Regions from separate parts of the Homo sapiens genome. Here region 1 is linked to region 2. The links are contacts of gene promoters, found by promoter capture Hi-C in blood cells and fetal thymus (Javierre and others, 2016). All regions are on one chromosome and are shown on one strand. Each heading gives the region's core, a stretch centred on a gene start or on the middle of the fragment in contact. The rest is flanking DNA. Distances are from core to core; before and after follow the strand shown. Region 1 overlaps SLC6A3 (solute carrier family 6 member 3). Region 2 holds the start of SLC6A18 (solute carrier family 6 member 18).

Region 1 (3,881 bases), core at 903-3,402, 200 kb after region 2:
CACTGGTGTTTGTTTTGCCTCCTCCTGGGGCTGCCTATTCTTCCTAGCTGGAGCACTAGGCTCTACGTTGTCCTTGTGGTATTTTTCTTTGATTCTGTAACATGCCATGGTCCTGCAAACACACCCCTTGGCTTCATTTTGGCCTTTCTGGGGTCCAGACGCCCTGCTGACTTCATGGTTTGTCTGGCTCCAGCTCTGCACTTGTGGGCCCCCGGCCACAGCTGATTTTGCTGCCCTGGTTGTCCTCCTCTCTCTTCCTTGGCTCCCGTGGGCCACACGCCTGCTGCACCCATGGCTCCTGTCTCCACAGGGCTTCCCCTTCAGTGCTGCAGGCACACTTCCACCCCCACCCCCACCCAACTGCTTTGCAGCCTCATAGGTGCCATGTCCAGGTGCCCTCTCTCACTGCACCTGTCAGCTGCTGCCTCCCTGGGGCTTCCTGGGAGGCTTGCAGCCATGCCCGCCCATCCCTTCTCCCCTTCCTTCCCACTTCTGCCTTGGGTTTACACTTGCCTCATGACCCCCAGACCTGGCTCCACCGGCCCACCCACACAGGGCAGCACCTCTCAACGGCCTCCTGCCTCATACCCCAGCTGAGATGGCCCTTCCCCTCTTGCTGCATTGTCCTCCCACAGCAACATGGATGCCCCTGGGCGGCTTTGGGGCCTGCCACCTCCCCCACTTAGTCCACCTGATTTCCAACGATGCCCCAAGGGAGCTGCCATTTTTGTCATGCCAGCCTTCCGCCAACAGCTGCTTCTGTTTCTGGGCCTGTTTGCCAGGAAGGGTGCAGCCCTTTCTCCTCCCTTTCTGGACAAGGGTCCCATCCCCCATGGCCCAGCTGAGTCTCCTCTCTCCGGGAGGCTTTCTCCAAATATTTTAACCCTGAATTATGTCTTCTTTTGCTGACCAAAGCTGCAGCCTGAGTCTAGATGGAGTTTCTGATGTAATTTGATTTAGATGACTCGTGCTGTATCACAGGTACTTGGGATTTGGCTTCCCGAGGAAAGAACCCTGGTGTCTGCAACTCTGACACCTCTCAGCCCTGGCAGGCAATGCATATGGAAACCTGGGAATGCCAGAGCCCCTGTGGACTGTGAAGCAGTGAGCAGACTGTACTCACAGACGCCTCGCAGAGCCGGTAGAAGTCAACGCTCAGGTATGCTCTGATGCCGTCTATGGCTCCAGGGAGGGTGACCCCACGCAGGAGCAGGGCAGTGAGGACCACGTATGGCATGGTGGCTGTGATCCATACCACCTGCAGGAGAGGACAGTGTCACCAGGCTGCACAGGCAGGGCCCTTGGTGGGAGCAGACACTGGCACAAGGGCACCGGGTTGCCCTGACGGCTTGTCCTCTGATTGGGAGGCCCAATTCCCAAACATTTCCTGGGACGCCAGCTCAGCAAATGCTCCTTGGAGTGAGAAGGTCAGACACTTTCTGTCCTGCACACCCTCCCCAGGGATGGAAAGGGAAGAACAACTTGGCAGGGAAAGCACATTCCTTTTCTGCATTCGGTCCGCCAGAGTAGCTGGGAGTGGCTGATGGGGGTTTTCTGATGCGTGGGACGTGAGTGGATTCACACTGGTGAACGGCACTGTGGCACGATGAAGGGCTGCTCTGGGCTGTGTCCCTGCGGGAGGCTCCCGTGGCTGGTGCCATACTACACGCACTTTTCCAAGGGAGGAGTCGTATCTTGGTCAAAACTGGTTTTGGCCCATATAACAACCAAAGTTTTTTTTTTTTTTTTGAGATGGAGTTTTGCTCTTTTTGCCCAGGCTGGAGTGCAGTGGCATGATCTTGGCTCACTGCAACCTCCGCCTCCTGGGTTCAAGCAATTCTCCTGCCTCAGCCTCCCACGTAGCTGGGATTATAGGCACGTGCCACCGTGCCTGGCTAATTTCGTATTTTTAGTAGAGATGGGGTTTCATCATGTTGGCCAGGCTGTTCTTGAACCCCTGACCTCAGGTGATCTGCCCGTCTCAGCCTCCCAAAGTATTTTTATCAACAAAAAAATCATCTTGTGTGTGCCTTCCTGCCAGAAACACTGCTGTGAGTGCTTCCCTCCTGAGGCCCTTCCCCAAACACAGCCACACGTGGACCCAAAACCCAACTGTGCCGTGTGTCCGCCCAGCCCAGCCACGGCCACGTGTCCCCCCACCCACCCATGGCCGCGCGTCTACCCAAGCCAACCCGGCACAGCCACAGGTGTACCCTCAATCATGGCCACGTGTACACTCCCAACCTGATTATGGCCATATGAGTCTCCCAAACTCAACCATGGCCATGTGTCCACCCCAACCTGGCCATGGCCACATTGGTAGCACAAAACCCAACTGAGGCCACACGTGCACCTCCTGTCCAGCCACGGCCACATGTCCACTTGGTGGCCCCATGTCTACAGGCCCAATTGGTGACCCCCGAGCCTCACCTTCCCTGAGGTCTTCACGCCCTTCCAGAGGCTGAAGTAGAGCAGCACGATGACCAGCACCAGGCAGGCTGTGAGCTGCCACCGCGGAGGCCCCAGGTCGTCGATGCCATGGCTCTGGTGGAGGTGCAGCACGCCACGTCTGCAGAGGGGAGTCAGCGGGGGACTCTGTGGGTGGCTGTCAACCCACCTGGAACTGGACGGCTGAGCTTGTCCGGGGACCTGCCCTCCCCATCTCAGCAGGGCAGAAAGCATCCAGTCTGATGGACAAGAGATGCCTTCCAGGGAGGTCTGGCCCACAGGCCCTGGCAGAGGTGTCAGGGCCGCCCTTGAAACCCGTGGAGCACGTGGGAGGCCCAGGAAGCCCTGCCTCACCATCTGCCCTTGGCACCCCTGCTCACTGGAGCTGCGGAGGCGGAGGGCACCTTGGGTCTTTGAAGAAAAGGAGCCACAGAAACCAAAAGGAAGTTGCTGAGCAATGCTGGGTGCCCACCACTGCCCAGTGCTGCCCAAGGTGCTGGGTGCCCACCGCTGCCCACGGTGCTGCCCACGCTGCTGGGTACCCACCGCTGCCCACAGTGCTGCCCACGCTGCTGGGTGCCCACCGCTGCCCACAGTGCTGCCCACGCTGCTGGGTGCCCACCGCTGCCCACAGTGCTGCCCACGCTGCTGGGTGCCCACCGCTGCCCACAGTGCTGCCCACGCTGCTGGGTACCCACCGCTGCCCAGTGCTGCCCATGGTGCTGGGTGCCCACCGCTGCCCAGTGCTGCCCATGGTGCTGGGTACCCACCGCTGCCCAGTGCTGCCCATGGTGCTGGGTGCCCACCACTGCCCACAGTGCTGCCCACGGTGCTGGGTGCCCACCGCTGCCCAGTGCTGCCCAAGGTGCTGGGTGCCCACCGCTGCCCACAGTGCTGCCCACGGTGCTGGGTACCCACCGCTGCCCACAGTGCTGCCCACGCTGCTGGGTGCCCACTGCTGCCCAGTGCTGCCCATGGTGCTGGGTGCCCACCGCTGCCCACAGTGCTGCCCATGGTGCTGGGTACCCACCGCTGCCCACAGTGCTGCCCACGCTGCTGGGTGCCCACCGCTGCCCACAGTGCTGCCCACGCTGCTGGGTACCCACTGCTGCCCAGTGCTGCCCAAGGTGCTGGGTACCCACCACTGCCCACAGTACTGCCCAAGGTGCTGGGTACCCACCACTGCCCACAGTGCTGCCCACGCTGCTGGGTACCCACTGCTGCCCAGTGCTGCCCACGGTGCTAGGTGCCCACCGCTGCCCACAGTGCTGCCCACGCTGCTGGGTACCCACTGCTGCCCAGTGCTGCCCATGGTGCTGGGTACCCACCGCTGCCCACGGTGCTGCCCATGGTGCTGGGTACCCACTGCTGCCCACAGTGCTGCCCACGGTGCTGGGTACCCACCGCTGCCCAGTGCTGCCCATGGTGCTGGG
Region 2 (4,039 bases), core at 774-3,273:
CAACCCTGGCTGCCATCCTTGGGCACTGTGTGTGTCCAGGGCACCTTGGAGGACCGTGCAGCCCCCAGAAGCTTCCAGCTCCCGCACCACTCAGTGAAGCCCAGCCTGGCGCCTGCCCTGCCCCCGTCACGGGATGGGCCCCCATTGGGGTTCAACATTCCATCGCAGCCAAAGGCAGTCGGCACTTGGGACATCTGCTTCCACGGACAGGTCACCTCCGCTTTGCACGGAAGAATCTGGATGCTTACATTAAACTGGTGTTCTGAGAGTTCCTACGGACAGGTCACCTCCGCTTTGCATGGAAGAATCTGGATGCTTACATTAAACTGGTGTTCTGAGAGTTCCTACGGACAGGTCACCTCTGCTTTCCATAGAAGAATCTGGACGCTTACATTAAACTGATGTTCTGAGAATTCCTACAGGCAGGACTGAAAGCCTGGTGTGTGCCAGTATGATGTTCCACCCACAGAAACCTGGTCACAATCGTCCCTTCCAGCACCCCATCCAGCAGTGACTGCACACACTGAGTCCCCTACCAGCCCCTTTCACCCTGCTGACTGTCACTGGGCCCTGGGATGCGCAAGACTCCACAGCAGCAGAGGTGGGGGGACATATCACAGCCTCTGCCCCCGGCTGTGATGCCACCGAGGGGCTCGCCTGCTGATGGCTTCAACAGGGTCTCACCTCATCTTTTCCTGCTCTTTGGCCCTGGATCGAGAAAATTTCCATCAGTGCCCCATTAATATGCTGCCCTGTGGCATCTGCCCAGGAGGCCCTGCCAGGCGTGCACAGGTGTGCATTGGTGTACCCTGGCATGCACAGGTGTGCACTGATGTGCCCTGGCATCCATTGGTGTACCCTGGTGTGCCTGCCATAGGACCCTGGGCGGGAGCTCCCATCTCATCTACATCTCCTGATTCATGCGTTGTTTCATAGGTTTCAATGTCTCTGTAAATGTGGTAGAAATGCAGGCTTTATGGGCATAAAGTGTACATTTCTAAATAAATCCCTTCTATTGAGTATGCTCACCCTAGAAGTTACTGTTGTCCAGACGTAGAGGGATGAGTGAGCCAGTGACCTCAGACGGGATGGTGGGGACGGCAGGTCCAGCTCCTGCCTCCTCCTGGGGGGTCTGGCTTTGGGGGCTTGCTCCGAAGAGGCCATGGCCCAGGCCTGTGGCCTCACAATGGGGACCAACCAGCTCTTCTCATCTTCTTCCCTCACACTTCCTCTCACTCAAATAAGAACCTTCCAAAAATGTGTCCACCTGGGCCCCTGCCCTGGGACTCATGGATTTGGAGTTGTGGCCACACGGTTGAGGGGTGCAGTGTCCAGTGGAATGGGGCAATTGCGGGCCTGGGGGCCCTTGGCCTGTCCGTGGCGGGAGCATCTGCAAGGAGGAGCCCCAGAGTCCAGGGAGCACTGTGGGGAGCTCCTTAGAGCTGAACTCACCCGGCGTCAACTCATCAACCCTCCACCCATGGACAGGGGTGCCCCCAGCACAGGAGAGGACTCAGCCCTCTGCCCCCACGCACGGTGGGTGCCTGTCACCCTGTCCTGCCCAGCGGCCCGAGGGCAGCAGTGGGTGTGAGGGCAGCCCCCGGCCTCCCAAGAGCAGCTGAGAGGATCCCTGCGGGAATCCGGGCTTCGGGTGCATGCGATCTGATCTGAGTTGTTTCTGACAGTGACAGAGTGACAATCTATAAGTATCTCAAGATCAAATGGTTAAATAAAACATAAGAAATTTAAAACGATTAAAATATGCCTCAGTCTTGGGAATCCTGGTGTCTGCAACAAAAAAACTTGAGGCTGTCCTTGCAAACGGTCCTCATGGTGCTGGGGGTGGTGCCAGGCCCGGCGTTTGCCTGGAACACAGAGCATGCGAGAAGGAGCAGAGGACGTGGGTGCCAGGGAAGGACCCTGGCGTCAGAGCCAGGGCCTGGACCTGAGTTACCCATTAACGGCACTCCACTGGTTTTCCTTTAAAGAAATGAATAAATACAACTGCAGTGGGGCTGCTTGTGGTTTCCAAACGTCGGCAGAGGCTGGAGACGGCTCTCTAGTGCTGGGTGTGGAGTGAGGCACCACCCTTGCCCTGAAGCCTGGGGCACTCAGTCACCATGGCTCATGCCCCAGAACCGGACCCGGCCGCCTGCGACCTCGGGGATGAGAGGCCCAAGTGGGACAACAAGGCCCAGTACCTCCTGAGCTGCACTGGGTTTGCCGTGGGACTGGGGAACATTTGGCGGTTCCCATACCTGTGCCAGACCTATGGAGGAGGTAAGCACCCACCTGCGTCCTGGGGCAGACCCCTAAGCAGGGGAGGCCGTCTCCACCCTGACCTGCCAGGCGCCTGCCACGCATCCCCAGTGCTTGGGCAGAGTCACTCCTCCTGGAAACCAGGGTGCACCATTGCCCACGGCAGAGTCAGTCCCCTCAGGGCCCACCTGCAGTCTTCTGGGACCTCAGGGCAGCTTCACCACTGCCCACAGCACGGAGGATCCAGTCCCCTCGGGGTCCACTATGGTCTTCCGGGACCTCAGGGCAGCTTCCTGCCAGGCGTCAGGTTGAATGGGCCGCCCTGCCCGACACACACACCCTACAAACAGTGAGCGCTCTTCCATCTGAATGTCGTCAGTTCTTTAAAGAACACACAATCCGCTCTGGGTTTCCTCACCACAGCCTTGGTGTGTCCAGACATGTGCTCAGGTGCCCTTCTCCGAGGTTCTTTGCAGGAATTTGGGGGCCCACCCCTCGCCTCCCTGGCTTTGGTTCTCTGGGAGAGCCCTGTGGGGGGTGCCAGGATGTTCAGAACTGTCTGGGTGACTTTAGTGACCTTGGACTCACCACCCCCAGAAGTGCATTGGTGACTGAAATAGGCTCCCACGCACCTCGAGCCTCCCCTCACCCTGTGCCTGCTTCTCTTCATGCAGGGGTCACACTCTGCTCTCCATGTGGCGACACAGGATGTAGGGACAGGCATGAATCACTGCTCTCAGGGAGCCGACGTACAACATCACGCATGGACACCCAGGTCTTCCCCAGGCAACACGGGCAGGGGCTTCCCAGGCCGCAGGGTCCTCCTCAGGCCAGGCCGGGCTGCTTGGTCAGCCTGTTCCCCGGGCCCTCAGCTCCTTCCCTGAGAGCCCCGCACAACTATCCCTTGTTATAAGGTTACTCCTTTAAAGTGTTTTTCCTCCTGCTTAAGAAAAGATTCTCAACAGGCAGAAAATGCAGGAAATGCGCACAAATGGAAAAAACAAAAAGAAACACCCGTCACTGCCACCCTCGGGGCACTGGGGTCTCTTTGGGGCTTTGGGGCTGGAGAGGGTGCATTGGGCCTTGGATCTTCTCATCATGAGAGTCCCTTTGAAGGCATTTCTGAAAGCACCAAAGCCCAAGGGCAGAGGCGTCCCTGGCTCCCGGGGCCCTCGCTGCCTGTGCTGCGGCTCGATCTGCTAAGAGTCACCAGAGCATGCAAGGTTGTGGGGGCAGCAGGCTTCACGCAGAGCTGGAAATGCCGGCCAACGCTTTACCCACCAACGCCTTGTTCGCCAATGCCTTGCCCACCGATGCCTTTCCTGCTGATGCCTTGCCCAACGCCTTGCCCACCGACGCCTTGCCCACCGATGCCTTGCCCACCGATGCCTTGCCCGCCGACGCGCCCAACGCCTTGCCCGCCGACGCCTTGCCCGCCGACACCTTGCCCGCCGACCCCTTGCCCGCCGACGCCTTGCCCGCCGACGCCTTGCCCGCCGACGCCTTGCCCGTCGATGCCTTGCCCGCCGATGACTTGCCCGCCGATGCCTTGCCCGCCGATGCCTTGCCCACCGAAACCCAGTTACCATTGCTAAGCGCCTGCAGTGTACTGGAAGTGTCTGGCACTAGCCTCCCTTAAACTCAGCTGCTCCACGCTGGGGCAAAGCTGGGGAGGCCCCCACCTGGGGTGCTGCTGAGGAGGGAGAACAGCCCTGCCCGCCAGCTGCGCGGGGACTTCAGGGCTGCTCCACTCATGAACGACTCTACCATCAATCTCCTG

The links. The method cuts DNA at HindIII sites, captures the fragments that hold promoters and counts their contacts. A CHiCAGO score of 5 or more calls a contact.
Region 1: a fragment that was not itself captured here is called in contact with the fragment with the promoter of SLC6A18 in region 2 in 3 of 17 cell types (naive CD4 T cells, total CD4 T cells and naive CD8 T cells); the score reaches 6.8 in naive CD4 T cells.

The regions. Positions count from the first base shown.
Region 1 is chr5:1,419,446-1,423,326 of GRCh38, forward strand. SLC6A3 (solute carrier family 6 member 3) reads right to left here. Exons shown (of 15, transcript NM_001044.5): 5 at 2,431-2,569; 6 at 1,124-1,258. Among named protein-coding and RNA genes, the nearest start is that of SLC6A3, 24 kb to the right of the region's middle. RefSeq lists an enhancer at 3,225-3,750. The HindIII fragment of the contact is 7,423 bases long and covers 1-3,881 here.
Region 2 is chr5:1,223,358-1,227,396 of GRCh38, forward strand. It overlaps SLC6A18 (solute carrier family 6 member 18), which reads left to right and starts at 2,024. Exons shown (of 12, transcript NM_182632.3): 1 at 2,024-2,280. The coding sequence starts at 2,121. It overlaps SLC6A19 (solute carrier family 6 member 19), which reads left to right. Exons shown (of 12, transcript NM_001003841.3): 12 at 1-1,754. RefSeq lists an enhancer at 2,418-2,960. The HindIII fragment of the contact is 4,471 bases long and covers 70-4,039 here.